Linked DNA regions of Homo sapiens: regions 1, 2 and 3 are each linked to region 4. Evidence: promoter capture Hi-C in 16 types of primary human blood cells and fetal thymus (Javierre and others, 2016). All regions are on one chromosome and are shown on one strand. Each heading gives the region's core, a stretch centred on a gene start or on the middle of the fragment in contact. The rest is flanking DNA. Distances are from core to core; before and after follow the strand shown. Region 1 has its middle 7.3 kb from the start of MESP1. Region 2 holds the start of RCCD1 (RCC1 domain containing 1). Region 3 overlaps PRC1 (protein regulator of cytokinesis 1). Region 4 holds the start of IQGAP1 (IQ motif containing GTPase activating protein 1).

Region 1 (3,639 bases), core at 304-2,803, 630 kb after region 4:
CCTTGGAAGGGGCTGCCCTGGGAGCTGCGGAGCCTCAGCGGGAGGCTGATAGGAAAGGAAGCACAGGTGGGGGAAGGTGAGCCCGCCTTGCTGGGCCCTCTGACTTCTCTGGGCTTCAGCCCAAGCATGGCCTCCAGGCCTCACGATCTGAGACCCACAGGGGCTGGGTGCTCCCCAGGGCCTTTCCCACCTTTTGATTGGGGTGGGGTGTTCACCGTGGGGCACCGCTGCATAATTTCAGGGAGATTTTATTTTTTATCCTCAGGCTGCATCCTCCAGGGATCTGGTCCATGAAGTCCAGATGGGGCCTGCAAGCTCTTCTTCTTCTTTCTTCTTCTCTCTTCTTTCTTCTTTCTTCTCTCTTCTCTCTTCTTCTTCTTCTTTTCTTCTTCTTCCTCTTCCTTCTTCCATCTTTCTTCTTCTTCTTTATTCTTCTTCTTCCTTTTCTTTGTTTGTTTGTTTTTTTTGAGACAGTTTCACTCTTGTTGCCCAGGTTGGAGTGCAGGGGTGTGATCTCGGCTCACTGCAGCCTCCACCTCCCAGGTTCAAGCAATTCTCCTGCCTCAGCCTCCCGAGTAGCTGGGATTACAGGCACCCACCACCGTGCCTGGCTAATTTTTTGTATTTTTATAGAGATGGGGTTTCTCCATGTTGACCAGGCTGGTCTCGAACTCCTGGCCTCAGGTGATCCACCCACCTCAGCCTCACAAAGTGTGGGGATTACAGGCGTGAGCTACTGTGCCCGGCCTCTTTTTCTTCTCAGTCTCTGTGATGTGAAGCAAGGCTTAATGTGACCGGAGGGGTCCCCAACCCCTTCACTCTTAGGACCTCCCTCCAGGATGGAAGGAGCCACTCATCCTCCGAAGGAGACATGGGAGATATAGGGAGGACAGAACAGAGGCTTTGGCCTCTGACAGAGACAGATGGATGCCAGCTCAGCCCCTGCTCACCCTGTTAGGTGGGACAATCTCTCTGAGCCTCTGTTTCCTCATCTACAAAGTGGGGGCCACTACACCCACATCAAAGTGTGTTGTGAGTGTGAGCAGCGACCCTGCAAAGCTCCAGCCCAGTGCCAGACCTCGGGGGACAGTAGTGTGCACGCACGCTCCATGCAGCCTGAGTTGATCCGCACATGCTCAGCCCAGAAGGCAGGAATTACCCTGTGGCACAGCAACAGACAAGACACTGAGGCCAGAGATGGAGAGCGAGGTGCCCAAGTGGCACAGGTAGTGCATGGCAAGGCAGGGCCTCATGCCCACATTGGCCAGACTCCAGAGGAGTGTCCTGGGCTGTCTGAAGGCGGAGGCTTCACTACTAACAATCTCTCCCCTGAGAGGGTTGCTGCAGAGGTGTGGCGGGAAGATCCTTGGCTGTGGGGGACACCCAAATTAGGAGCTTCCCAGGAGATGCTAAGTAGGCTGGCAGTAGGAGAGCCGCTTCCTTCTCCTGGGGCCTCTGGCTCCGGCAGGGACAGGATTAGGGTCTGCAAGGGGACGATTTACATAGCACCTCTGATTAGTACTCCTATGTCAGAGGGACTGGCTGGGAAATGAGGGCCTTGGGGCTGGGAGGGGGGCCGGGCAGTGCCCAGGACCCAGGTTTGGCGTGAGAAGCGGGCTGGGTAGAGTGGGGAGGCTGAGGTCCAGGCCTGAGCCTGAGAGGGTGCTGCCCTGTCCAGCCTGCCCCCCATGCTGGCCTCAGCTTGCTCTGTCACCTCTGCTCCTGTGGGGCTGCCCCAAGGCCTCATTTCCCAGCCTTACACGTTTGGCAGAGGGTAGGCTCGGGCCAGGGGAGCAGAGGCCACTAGCTCCGGCACTTGTCAAAACACAGGCCCCAGAGGTGTGAAGGCCTCACCCCAGTGGGAGAGCGTGTGGGCCCTGCCGCCCGGAGAACTCATTAACTCAGGCAGCCCCCACATGAACCCACCGGAGAGGCTGGCCACAATAAGGAGATCAAAGGGGAGACAGGCAGGGGACAGGGAAGAGGAGGCTGGCTGGTGGGAGGCGGCAGGGACTGGGCTTCAGGTTGGGGTGCCTCCCATCCCTTAACTTGGTTCCATCAGGCCCACTGACCATTGCCCTTGCACCAGCTGGGCCCCTGGGGCGACTTCCCAGAGACCCCAGGGGAGGGAGGGACTCCATGTGTTCCCTTCAATTTGTCAGCCTTGAGGGCTGAAGACCCCAAAGACGGGACTGGGGATAGAACCTTCCCATCTGCCCCACCTCTCTCTTGCCATATTTGTGGGTTGTCTCCACAACTCACCCCTGTGCCTTTCTAACCCTACCTCAGTGGTGACACGAGGGATCTTCCTGTCACAGGCCATTCCTGATGTCCCTCTCCTGCTCCATATCTCTTGGTGGCTCCCACGTGCTCACTTAACATTAGCTATTAGGTTTCAGATCTGAGAACTTCTAGGGGCTGTGGTTTCAACATAAAGTGTGCTTCCCACACATATGGTCTCTTGTCCAAATATGTGTAGTTGATTTTGTACTTAATAAAATACAGGCTGGGCATGGTGTCTCATACCTATAATCCCAGCACTTTGAAAGGCTGAGGTGGGAGGATCACTTGAAGCTAGGAGTTTGAAACCAGCCTGGGTAACAAAGTGAGACTCAGATTCTACAAAAAAAAATATATATATATTTTTTTTTATTTATATATATATTTTTTGAGACAGAGTCTCGCTCTGTCACCCAGGCTGGAGTGTGGTGGCACCATCTCGGCTCACTGCAACCTCCGCCTCCTGGGTTCAAGCAATTCTCCTGCCTCAGCCTCCCAAGTAGCTGGGACTACAGGCACCCGCCACCATGCCTGGCTAATTTTTTTGTATTTTTAGTAGAGACGGGGTTTCACTGTGTTATCCAGGATGCTCTCAATCTCCTGACCTCCTGATCCACCCACCTTGGCCTCCCAAAGTGCTGGGATTACAGGTGTGAGCCACTGCGCCCGGTCCAAAATAATATTTTTTAATTAGCTGGGTGTGGTGATGCACGGTGCCTGTGGTTCCAGCTACTGAGGAGTATGAAGTGGGAGGATTGCCTGAGCCCAGGGGATCGAGGCAGCAGTGAGCCAAGATTGCGCTACTGCACTCCAGCCTGCGTGACAGAGCAAGACCCTGAAAAAGAAAAAGAAAATAAACAAACAAACAAAAAAACCCAAAACCAAATTCATTTCAAAGCATTGTTGACAACCCAGTAATGGCGGTTTCTTCTGGCACAGGCAATTGGGAGCCCCAGAGCAGGATGGTAAACAGGTTTGCTCTACCTTCTGCACGTGTTGACTTTGTAACTATGTGTAAAGCAAATGCTCTACTTGCAAATAAAGATACGAAGATAAAACACGAGTTTGTGGTCATTCTGAGTTTACTCAAGTAAAGCTACGAAATGAAGTCACAATCATGCGAGAATCAGGGCTTTCTTGGCATTGAGAGGCTTAGCAGTCCCTGGACCACAGGGCACCTGGAGCCTCCTGAGGTCCAGCCTTTCTGCTTTCTGGCCTTTTCTTTTCTTTCTTTTCTTTTCTCTCTTCTTTTTTTCTTTTTCTTTCTTTCTTTCTTTCTTTTTTTTTTTTTGAGACGGAGTCTTGCTCTTGTTGCTCAGGCTGGAGTGCAATGGTGAGATCTCAGCTCACCACAACCTC
Region 2 (3,146 bases), core at 301-2,800, 570 kb before region 4:
CGAAGTGGCCTGTCCTTTAGGCATTGGACTAGGATCCGAGCGCCCCCGACACCCCCACCCCGTCCCGCAGCTTCCCAGCATCTGGCACTTTATCCCATGTAATCTTGGGAACCAAAATGGTCGTTTTACAGAGGAGATTCTGAGACAAAGTAACCCTTACACACTCATACAGCCAGACAGAGAGGGGCAGAGCGCTGAAATCAGGTCCCACCAACTCCACACACAGTGCTCTGCCCCTCTCCCCACAGCGGAACGCAGAAGAGCGTTTGGGAGGCAGTGCCTCTGCAACTCAGCGGGGCCTTGGGACCGCAGCCAATCCACCTGAGTCCAACTGCGTTTCTTCAGTTTACAAAGGGAGGTGGGGGCGGTGCTGTTTGAACCTTCCTCACAGAATTGTAATAAATGCAAATAAAGGGTTTGGTGCGAGTACATGCCATGATAAACACACAGTATTAGCTTACTGAATCCAGTATTTAGTGTTGACAAAAAAATTATCCCTGGACATCTTACTGGTTTTGAGAAACTTATACAGACAGAATTTCAACTGTACCTTATCTAGCCATTTATTCGTCCAGCGAGCATTTACTGAGCGCTCCTCCTCTGCCAGTGAGGACAGCTGTCTGCTCCCAAGGAGCTAACCGTTAAATGGGGAGACAAACAGTCTGGTGGTTACAACAGCAACGCCAACTTCAAGCAGATTCGGCTGGAGCGGGTTTGTTTTTTTTTTTTTTTAATATAATAGAGACAGGGGTCTCGCTATGCTGCCCAGGCTGGTCTCAAATTCCTGGGCTCGAGTGATCCGCCCGCCTCGGCCTCCCAAAGCGTTGGGATTACAGGCGTGAGCCGCTGCACCCGGGCTGAAGCAGAATTGCATGGGCATTTTCAGGCCTCTTAAGTCAGATCCTGGGTCTCTCCTGAGACCCCAGTTCCTGGGCTCCTAACCCCTTCCGTGTCCTCTCCCAACCCAAGGGGGCCTCTGACCTTGATCTTGACCCTATGCCCTCTACCCTCTCGGGCAGGTCCTTCTGGTGGGCAGCCTTGGAGGAAACGCCGAGGCGCAGAGCGGCCGCCTCCGGAAAGGCCTCCCGCCCAGCGGGCGCCGACAGCCACGGGGAGAAAAGGTTTGAAGGGCGCGCGGCGCGAGGCGGCCAATCACCAGCAAGGGCGGTGACGTCGCCGCCCGGGGCGCGGCGGCCGCAGCCCTGTTCAACTCCCCTTGAGGGCCTCTCCGGTCCCGAGGCCTACGCCGGGGCCCTGCGGCCCGGTCTGTGAAATGGGCTGAAACCTCCGAGGGGCGTTGGACCAAGGCCCTGGAGGAAACCGGGGGCGTTGGACCAAGGCAGAGGTTGGGCCAGGTGGTCCCGCCCCTGCAGGAACCCGTGGGGCTGGAGCTCGGATTAGAACCACAGAGAGGACATTCATTAAGACTTGAGCTAAAGGTTTGGCGAGGAGTGACGCCCAAGACGGGCGGACCCCGCCACCCACCTCAGTCCCGGGACCGCGGCAGCTCAAAACCCGACACGCGCCGGACTCATGCCCCAACAGGAAGCAGCTTTTACCTTCCACGGATTGGCTCAGGACCCGTCACGTGCCTCTGTCGAGCCAACGAGCCTCACGCTGGGCTTAGCCCTCCTCGAACGTGCTGGGGTGGTGGGCGGGGCCCAAGCCGCCCTTCAACCAGGCTCAGCTGGCCACCAACCCCAACCCCCGCCCCAGCGCCCTCAGCGGAGGCCACAGAGGACTCCCAATATAAAGACAAACGTACTGAAGGCCCAGCATATGGGAGTCTCTACCCTAAACGACTTATTTCTTGGGATAGTTTAATATTTTTTGAGATAGGGTCTCGCTGTGTCGCCCAGGCGACACTTTGGGAGGCTGCGCTCTGGGCTCACTGCAACCTTCGCCTACCGAGTAGCTGGGATTACAGGTGCATGCCGCCACACTCTGCTCTTTTTTTTTTTTTTTTTTTTTTTTTGGTATTTTTATAGAGAAAGAGTTTTGCTTGTTGCCCAGGCTGGTCTCGAACCCCTGACTTCAAGTGATCCACCTGCCTCAGCCTCCCAAAGCGCTGGGATTACAAGCTTGAGGCACCGCACCTGGTGAGTTTCTTATTGATTAGCTTCCTAGGCTTACCCTTTGTCCCTCCAGTAGGATTAAGAAGCAACTCAGTGGGCCCTGGTTGGGGAATCCATTGGATTCCTTCCATGGAGGTGGGTCTGCCACTGTGAAGCTCCGTTGCACACTCACCCACGCCCAGCTCACACCCATACTCACCCACACTCACCCACTCAGAGACTCCCACTCACAGCAGCCCTCCCTGCCCAAGGACAGGGCACACAGTGGAGTTCTACACACTTTTATTGGAGGGGCAGGCCTGATAGCAGGCTCACAGCTGGTGAGGCTGCTGATGTGTGCGCCCTTCCAGATGCCCCAGGATCCACAGGCTGTGTTGGGATGCACCTTCCCCATTCCCAGCTGACTACAGTAGTACAGAAAAAGGGCCCCTCTGAGTGAGGCTGCAGGCAGTGCTGGCCAAGCAGGGCTGTGTGACTGAACGTGGCCGCTGACTCAGAACAGAGGACATCCTAGGGCAGCAAGCGAGGATGGGCAAGAGTATTGGGCATGCCAGCCACCACCAGCCAAAGCTGCTTCCGTCCTTACTCTCCGTGCCACAATAGGTAGCGTGTGCATGAGCCTTGGGCCCAGGGACAACCCCCTCACTCTCCATCTTGGTTGGGTTGGATAAGCCCATATTCCACTGCTTTGTCCAGGCAGGCTGCAGCAGCCCTTGTGACAGGGCTGTGGTCACCCTTAGCTAGCACTGACAAGATCTCCATCATCTCACTCTCCATCAGGGTGCTGGCAATCTCCCTCGAGGCCTCCACCATGTTCAGCACCACCACAGCACCCCGGTGCTGCAGCTCCTGGTTGGAGCTCAGAAGCAGGGCCTGCAGGATCTCCAGCCAGTGTGTGGTCTGTGAGAAAAACAGGGTAGATATGACCCCTGGGCAACAGGCTCAACCTTGGCAAGGGACACACCCACACACCCTAGGACTGCCCCCTTCAGCTGCTGCTGGGAGTTCCTGGTCCGTCCCTCCTCCCCCACTGAGAAGAGGCACTGACCACTTGGGGAATGCGGCTGCAGA
Region 3 (3,335 bases), core at 343-2,842, 600 kb before region 4:
CAAAAAAGTAAAATAAATAAATAAATAAAATAGAAATATAATAATTTGAGCTTTATCCATATCATGTGTAGTGTGTTCATTTTCTTTTTTGACAGTTTCGCTCTGTCGCCCAAGCTGGAGTACAGTGGTACAATCTTGGCTCACTGCAACCTTGGCTCACTGCAAACCCTGCCTCCCGGGTTCAAGCGATTCTCCTGCCTCAGCCGCCCCAGTAGCTGGGATTACAGGCGCACCACCACACCCAGCTAATTTTTTGTGTTTTTAGTAGAGACAGGGTTTCCCCATGTTGGCCAGGCTGGTCTCCTGACCTCAAGTGATCTGCTCCCCTCGGCCTCCCAGAGTCCTGGAATTACAGGTGTGAGCCACTGCACCCAGCCAGTTTGTTCATTTTCATTGCTGCATTAGTGCATTGTAGGAATGTACTATTCATTCTGTTGATAGACATCTAGGCTGTTTCTGTTTCCCTGCTATTATGAGTAGTGCTTCTCTAACCATTCTCATATATGTCTTTGGTGAACGTATGTGTTCATTTCTGCTAGGTATGTATGTAGAGGTAGAACTGCTGGGTTCAGCTTTAGTAGATAGACTGCCAACAGTTTTTAAAATAGTTGTACCAATTTACACCATGCCAGCAGCATATGAAAGTTCTCACTTTTCTATATACTCACCAACACTTAATGCTGTCTTTTTAACTTTAGCCATTCTTTGAGCTGCTAGTTGTAATTTAAGAAGAATAGGCCAGGCATGGTAGCTCACGCCTGTAATCCCAGCAATTTGGGAGGCCGAGGCAGGTGGATCACTTGAGGTCAGGAGTTCGAGACCAGCGTGGCCAACGTAGTGAAACCCCATCTCAATGGCTTTTTAACTTTAGCCATTCTTTGAGCTGCCGGTTGCAATTTAAGAATACTAGGCCCGGGCGCAGTGGCTCATGCCTGTAATCCCAGCACTTTGGGAGGCCGAGGTGGGTGGATTTTTGTGTTTTTGTAAAAATACAAAAATTAGCTGGGTGTGGTGGCACACACCTGTAATCTGAGCTACTTGGGAGGCTGAAGCAGGAGAATCACTTGAACCTGGGAGGCGGAGGTTGCAGTGAGCTGAGATCTCACCACTGCACTCCAGCCAGGGCAACGGAGCGAGACTCTGTCTCAAAAAAAAAAAAGAAAATAAAAATAAATAAATTAATTAAATAAAATGGCAAGGCACAGTGGCTCACATATGTAATCCTAGCACTTTGGGAGGCCGAGGAGGGCGGATCACTTGAGGCCGGGAATTCAAGACCCACCTGGCTAACATGGCGAAACCCCAACTCTACTAAAAATACAAAAATTAGCTGGGTGTGGTAGCACCTGCCTATAGTCCCACCTACTCGGGAGGCTGAGTCAGGAGAATCATTTGAACGCAAAAGGTAGAGGTTGCAGTGAGCCAAAATTGCACCACTGCACTCCAGCCTGGGCGACAGAGCAAGATGCTGTCTCAAAAAAAAAGAAAAAACAAAAAAAAAACACCAAAAAAATAGTAATAAATTGCCAAACATTTTGCAGGAGTTTCTCACCAGCAAGTTCTTGTGTTAGTTTATTTTACCAACATCTTTTGTCCGGTTTTTCTTTAGTAAAAGTATTTATAATTCTGTATTATACTTCCATAGGTAGATCATTGTTGAAAGTCCAGAAGGTTGAGCTTCCATGATGTAATATGATATGAAATCTTGTATTGCTAGTGGCATTTGGTAGGAAAAGGGATGGGGAGTGGTTAAAGGTGAATTAAGCTGAATGCTTGTTTTCAATTTGTTTTTTTCTCGAGGCCACTGAGAAGCTAGTCTTTTTAGTTCTCGAAAATAGTGCTTTTAGTCCAGAGGCTGTGACTGATGTAACTAACAGGCCTTAGTTTTTGGTTTTCAGTGAGGTGCTGGCGGAGGAGTCCATAGTATGTCTGCAGAAAGCCCTAAATCACCTTCGGGAAATATGGGAGCTAATTGGGATTCCAGAGGACCAGCGGTTACAAAGAACTGAGGTGGTAAAGAAGCATATCAAGGTGGGTTGAATAGTACTGGTCTCTGCATTGGACCAGGGTAAGGATGTTGGTGTCTCACCCGAGATAGCATACAGAAGGGACATGTGATCATCGGCATTAGGATAGCACAGGCTCTTCCTGTTTGGTTTGGTTTGGTTTTGAAGTCCCTTCTTGAAATTTGAGGAGGCTGGGTGCGGTGGCTCATGCCTGTAATCCCAGCACTTTGGGAGGCCGAGGCGCATGGATTGCTTGAGGTCAGGAGTTCAAGACCAGCCTGATCAACATGGTGAACCTCCGTCTCTACTAAAAATAAAAAAATTAGCCGGGCATGGTGGTGAGCACCTGTAATCCCAGCTACTCAAGAGGCTGAGACAGGAGAATCTATTGAACCCGGAAGGTAGAGGTTGCAGTGAGCCGAAAGCACGCCATTGCACTCCAGCCTGGGCAACAGAGCGAGACTCCATCTCAAAGAAAAAAAGAAAAAGAAAAAAGAAATTTGAGGAGTTTGGTATTGGTGTTGGGAGTTTTTTTCCTCCATTGCCCCAAACTTATGGACTGTTTTCCCTCTTGTAGGAACTCCTGGATATGATGATTGCTGAAGAGGAAAGCCTGAAGGAAAGACTCATCAAAAGCATATCCGTCTGTCAGAAAGAGCTGAACACTCTGTGCAGCGAGTTACATGTTGAGCCATTTCAGGTCCGTGGCAGCCCACAGGGTCTCTGGTGATCTGTCTGGGGCCTGAGACTTAGAAAGCAACGTTGACTTGGGCCTGCAGATGGAAGGCTTCCTCGTAGGGATGGAGCTAGACGTAAGAAGTGGGGAAAACATGCTGTGTAGTTAATTAGGCCCAGCAGAGTAATTCTCACCTCTGTAGAGAGTTGCCCTGGTAAGAGGTGAAGCAACTAATAGATGATCAAAAAGAAGCTGCTGCTTACCATAGTTTTGCTTTGTAGGGAATATGAATTTTTTTTTATAAACGCTGAGAAAAAGGTAGGCATAGATGGTGCTGCAGTGTTCTTTCTCTGAAAGAAAATGAAAACAGGAACAAAAGTAACTAATGATTAAAAGGAATACTATGAAAACACCAACCTTTGTGGGTTTTATCATACCCAGAAGCTGCATACCACTGAACCAGCCAAAATGGCTTCTTCAGAAGAAATGTCTCAAAAGCTGGAATACTGGGAGTGCATAGTCCATTTCAGAGCATGCCATGACATCCATCTGGGTATGGAGCTGAGAAGTGGCTATATTGTGGTCCACTGCAAGTCAGGGACTTGAGTGAGGACACAGCAAGGATGAAATGAATAACAGATGGGGTCCTGAAA
Region 4 (3,359 bases), core at 711-3,210:
CTTCCTTCATGGGCACCAGGTGTGGAATAAATTCCTAACTCCTTGGGAAGGCATTCAAGGCCTTTCCCAGTCTGGTCCCAACTATTTTTGGAAACTCTCCTCTTCCCTTCCTCCCACCACTGTGCAGTCTACATCACTCAGTTCCCAACACAGTATCCCTCTACTTTCAATACCTTTGTTTATGCTCTTCCCTCAGGTCCTGTCTCTTGTTCCACATGCCCTATCAAACTTTTTTTTTTTTTTTTTTGAGACAGGGTCTTGTTCTGTCACTCCGGCTCGAGTGCAGTGGCACAATCATGGCTTACTGCAGCCTCGACTTTCTGGGCTCAAATGATCCTCCTACCTCAGCCCCAAGCAGCTGGGACCACAGGCATGGGCCACCACGCCTGGCTAATTTTTTTTTTTTTTTTTAAGAGATGGAGTCTCACTGTGCTGCCCAGGCTGGTCTCAAACTCAAGGCCTCAAACTATCCTCTCACCTCGGACTCCCAAAGTGCTGGGATTACACGCAGGAGTCACTATGCCTGGCCACCTGTCAAACTTTCTACACAGCATTCTTCAAGGCTCTGTTCAAATGTCACCTTCAGGCCAGGTGCAGTGGCTCACACTTTGGGAGGTCGAGGCGTGGGGATCATTTGAGATCAGGAGTTTGAGACCAGCCTGACCAACACAGTGAAACCCTGTCTCTACTAAAAATACAAAAATTAGCCAGTGTGGTGGCCGACGCCTGTACTCGGGAGACTGCAGGAGAATCGCTTGAACCTGGGAGGTGGAGTTTGCAGTGAGCTGAGATTGCACCACTGAACTCCAGGCTGGGCGACCAGAGCAAGACCCCCTGTCTCCAAAAAAAAAAAAAAAAAAGTCACCTCCCGTGCTCATACTGTCTTCCCCAGGCCCCTTCTCCTTACCTACATTACTCTGTATGGCTAGTAAGTTCAGCATCTTTTATCATTATTGCACCTTATAATCATTAGCTTGCACACCTGACTCTCTGATTAAAACGCTCTTTGGAGACAGGGCCTGATCTTACTCATCTTTAATTTCACAAACGTGGCACAATACCTCACGTATAACTGTTGATGCGTGAAATGTTGATCCTTTAAAAAAGAACATTATTCCCACAATATAAAATAAAACCGAAAACCTCAAAATCCCAAAGGGTCCTCCTTTAGCCAATCCTGCCTGCAGTTCAATGACGTCCAGGGCCGACAACAGAAAATGAGGAAGTCAGAGGATTTTCTGCTTCTTTTTTTTTTCTTTATTACTATTTTACTTTTGAAATCTTGAGGAGGGAACTAAGCCCGAGAAAACTGAAGTGACTTGCCCAGGACGGCACCTCGTAGCTAGCCTGGGACCGGACAGGTCTGGACCCTGGTCTATCCCTTGGGTCTACCCCGCAGGCAACACTAGGGCAGCGCCTTTCCACGAAACGGGCAGAGCCCGCGTACCCAGACCCCCAATCCCCGGGACACGCCCTGCGCGGTCATCCTGCCACCTCACTCTAGGCCGTCTTCCCCAATCTCGGCCGAGCCTGGGCGGCGAGAGGCGCTGGGTGGGGCTCCCCCTACCGCGGCCCCAGCTAAGGCGGGAGGCCTCGGGGGTCCTCTCCGCCGCCTCGGACCCCGAGGGGGCGCGAACCAGGGGCCTCCCCGCCCGCCGCCCGCCGCCCCACCGGGACGGCTCTTCCGGGTCCGAGCTGCCGGCAGCCGCCCTGCCCCACCCGCCCGGCCGAGCCCCCAGGAAAATCGCGCCTCGTCTGCAATTAGCCCAGCCCGAAGCCCCCGCGCCGCGGAGCCCCGCACTCACAGCCATAGTGCGGCCGGGCCACGCCCAGCCCGTCAACCTCGTCTGCGGCGGACATGGCGGACGAGCCCGAGTCTCTGCTGAGGAAGCCGTGAAACCTTGGAGGCGCGGACGGCGGTAGCTACAGCTCCTGCCAAGTGCGCGGGCTTGCCGGGGTCCCCGAGGCCCCGCCCCGTGCCGTCAGCCCCACCCCGCAGGCCCCGCCCCAGCGGCACCGCCCCAGCGACACCGCCCTGAGCGGCCGGAAAGAGGCGGGGCCAGAGTCACCGTGCCCCGCCCCTAACTCCGCCCCCTCAGCCCGGCCCCGCCCTGCATCCCGCTATGGTCTCCGTAGGCGGAAGGAAGAAGGTAGAGCCCATCCTCCAATCGGGCTCACGCTGAGCTTGCCCTGCCGGGAATGCCCGCCCAGGTTTATAGCCCCGCCCCCAAGGCCACTGCCCTATCCGCAACTCTAACCGAAAGGCTGCCGGTGTCTGCTGCCTGAAATCAAAATAGTGGGTCATCTCCCTTCTCTTGCCGGCCCAGCTAACCTCTGCACCAATATTTGGAGAAGACACCCTTTGAGGTGACCCAGGTTGTCTTGTTGGACACAAGCAGGCCCCAAACTGCCATGAAAGCCCTCCAACCCCACTCTCCGCAGTTTGGCAACCTGGCCTCAGTCCTCTTAGATTCGGCAGCAGTCACCAGATTACCCAGGTACCCAGGTATTTGAGATGCGGATGCTAAAGCCGAACTCTGTCCAAATTCCCTACCTTTGGATCCCTTGACATTGTTCTTTGCAAGTTCTTTTTAAAATAACTCTTTTCCCGTATCAGGGATGCCTCTGCCCCCTGCACCTTGTGGCTTGCCCTTCAGATATTGGTATTCAACGGTATTCTGTCCGCAGCCCTCTTCTGTTTATTCTTTTTTCTTTTCTTTCTTTCTTTTTTTTTATTTTCTTTTTTTTTTGAGACGGAGTCTCGCTCTGTCGCCCAGGCTGGAGTGCAGTGGCGCGATCCGGGCTCACTGCAAGCTCCGCCTCCCGGGTTCGCGCCATTCTCCTGCCTCAGCCTCCCGAGTAGCTGAGTCTACAGGCACCCGCCACCGCGCCCGGCTAAGTTTTTGTATTTTTAGTAGAGACGGGGTTTCACCGTGTTAGCCAGGATGGTCTCGATCTCCTGACCTCGTGATCCACCCGCCTCGGCCTCCCACAGTGCTGGGATTACAGGCGTGAGCCACCGCGCCCGGCATTTTTTTTTTTTTTTTTTTTTTGAGACGGAGTTTTGCTCAGTCGTTCAGGCTGGAGTGCAGTGGCGCGATCTCGGCTCACTGCAACCTCCGCCTCCCGGGTTCAAGCGACTCTCCCGCCTCAGCCTCCCAAGTAGCTGGGATTATAGGTGCCCGCCACCACGCCCAACTACTTTTTTTGTATTTTTAGTAGAGGCAGGGTTTCACCATGTTGATCAGGCTGGTCTCGAACTCCTGACCTCAGGTAATCCACCCGCTTCTGCTTCCCAAAGTGCTGAGATTACAGGTGTGAGCCACCGCGCCCGGCCCTCTTCCGTTTATTCTTTGCCT

Evidence for each region. The method cuts DNA at HindIII sites, captures the fragments that hold promoters and counts their contacts. A CHiCAGO score of 5 or more calls a contact.
Region 1: a fragment that was not itself captured here is called in contact with the fragment with the promoter of IQGAP1 in region 4 in 1 of 17 cell types (neutrophils); the score reaches 5.6 in neutrophils.
Region 2: the fragment with the promoter of RCCD1 here is called in contact with the fragment with the promoter of IQGAP1 in region 4 in 1 of 17 cell types (activated CD4 T cells); the score reaches 6.1 in activated CD4 T cells.
Region 3: a fragment that was not itself captured here is called in contact with the fragment with the promoter of IQGAP1 in region 4 in 1 of 17 cell types (total B cells); the score reaches 5.2 in total B cells.

What each region holds. Positions count from the first base shown.
Region 1 is chr15:89,756,743-89,760,381 of GRCh38, reverse strand. No RefSeq gene overlaps it. Among named protein-coding and RNA genes, the nearest start is that of MESP1, 7.3 kb to the right of the region's middle. The HindIII fragment of the contact is 6,729 bases long and covers 1-3,639 here.
Region 2 is chr15:90,953,288-90,956,433 of GRCh38, reverse strand. RCCD1 (RCC1 domain containing 1) reads right to left here and starts at 1,550. Exons shown (of 8, transcript NM_001017919.2): 1 at 1,486-1,550. It overlaps UNC45A (unc-45 myosin chaperone A), which reads right to left. Exons shown (of 20, transcript NM_018671.5): 19 at 3,124-3,146; 20 at 2,341-2,975. The coding sequence ends at 2,718. It overlaps RCCD1-AS1 (RCCD1 and UNC45A antisense RNA 1), which reads left to right and starts at 1,941. Exons shown (of 2, transcript NR_170325.1): 1 at 1,941-2,099. RefSeq lists a silencer at 1,054-1,183 and enhancers at 1,404-1,513, 1,314-1,868, 2,693-3,146. The HindIII fragment of the contact is 3,970 bases long and covers 1-2,083 here.
Region 3 is chr15:90,983,389-90,986,723 of GRCh38, reverse strand. PRC1 (protein regulator of cytokinesis 1) reads left to right here. Exons shown (of 15, transcript NM_003981.4): 2 at 1,899-2,031; 3 at 2,584-2,706. It overlaps PRC1-AS1 (PRC1 antisense RNA 1), which reads right to left. Exons shown (of 4, transcript NR_051984.1): 3 at 2,946-3,032. Among named protein-coding and RNA genes, the nearest start is that of PRC1, 9.5 kb to the left of the region's middle. RefSeq lists an enhancer at 2,163-3,335. The HindIII fragment of the contact is 4,694 bases long and covers 1-3,335 here.
Region 4 is chr15:90,386,843-90,390,201 of GRCh38, reverse strand. IQGAP1 (IQ motif containing GTPase activating protein 1) reads right to left here and starts at 1,960. Exons shown (of 38, transcript NM_003870.4): 1 at 1,806-1,960. The coding sequence starts at 1,860. RefSeq lists a silencer at 1,457-2,236. The HindIII fragment of the contact is 8,546 bases long and covers 1-3,359 here.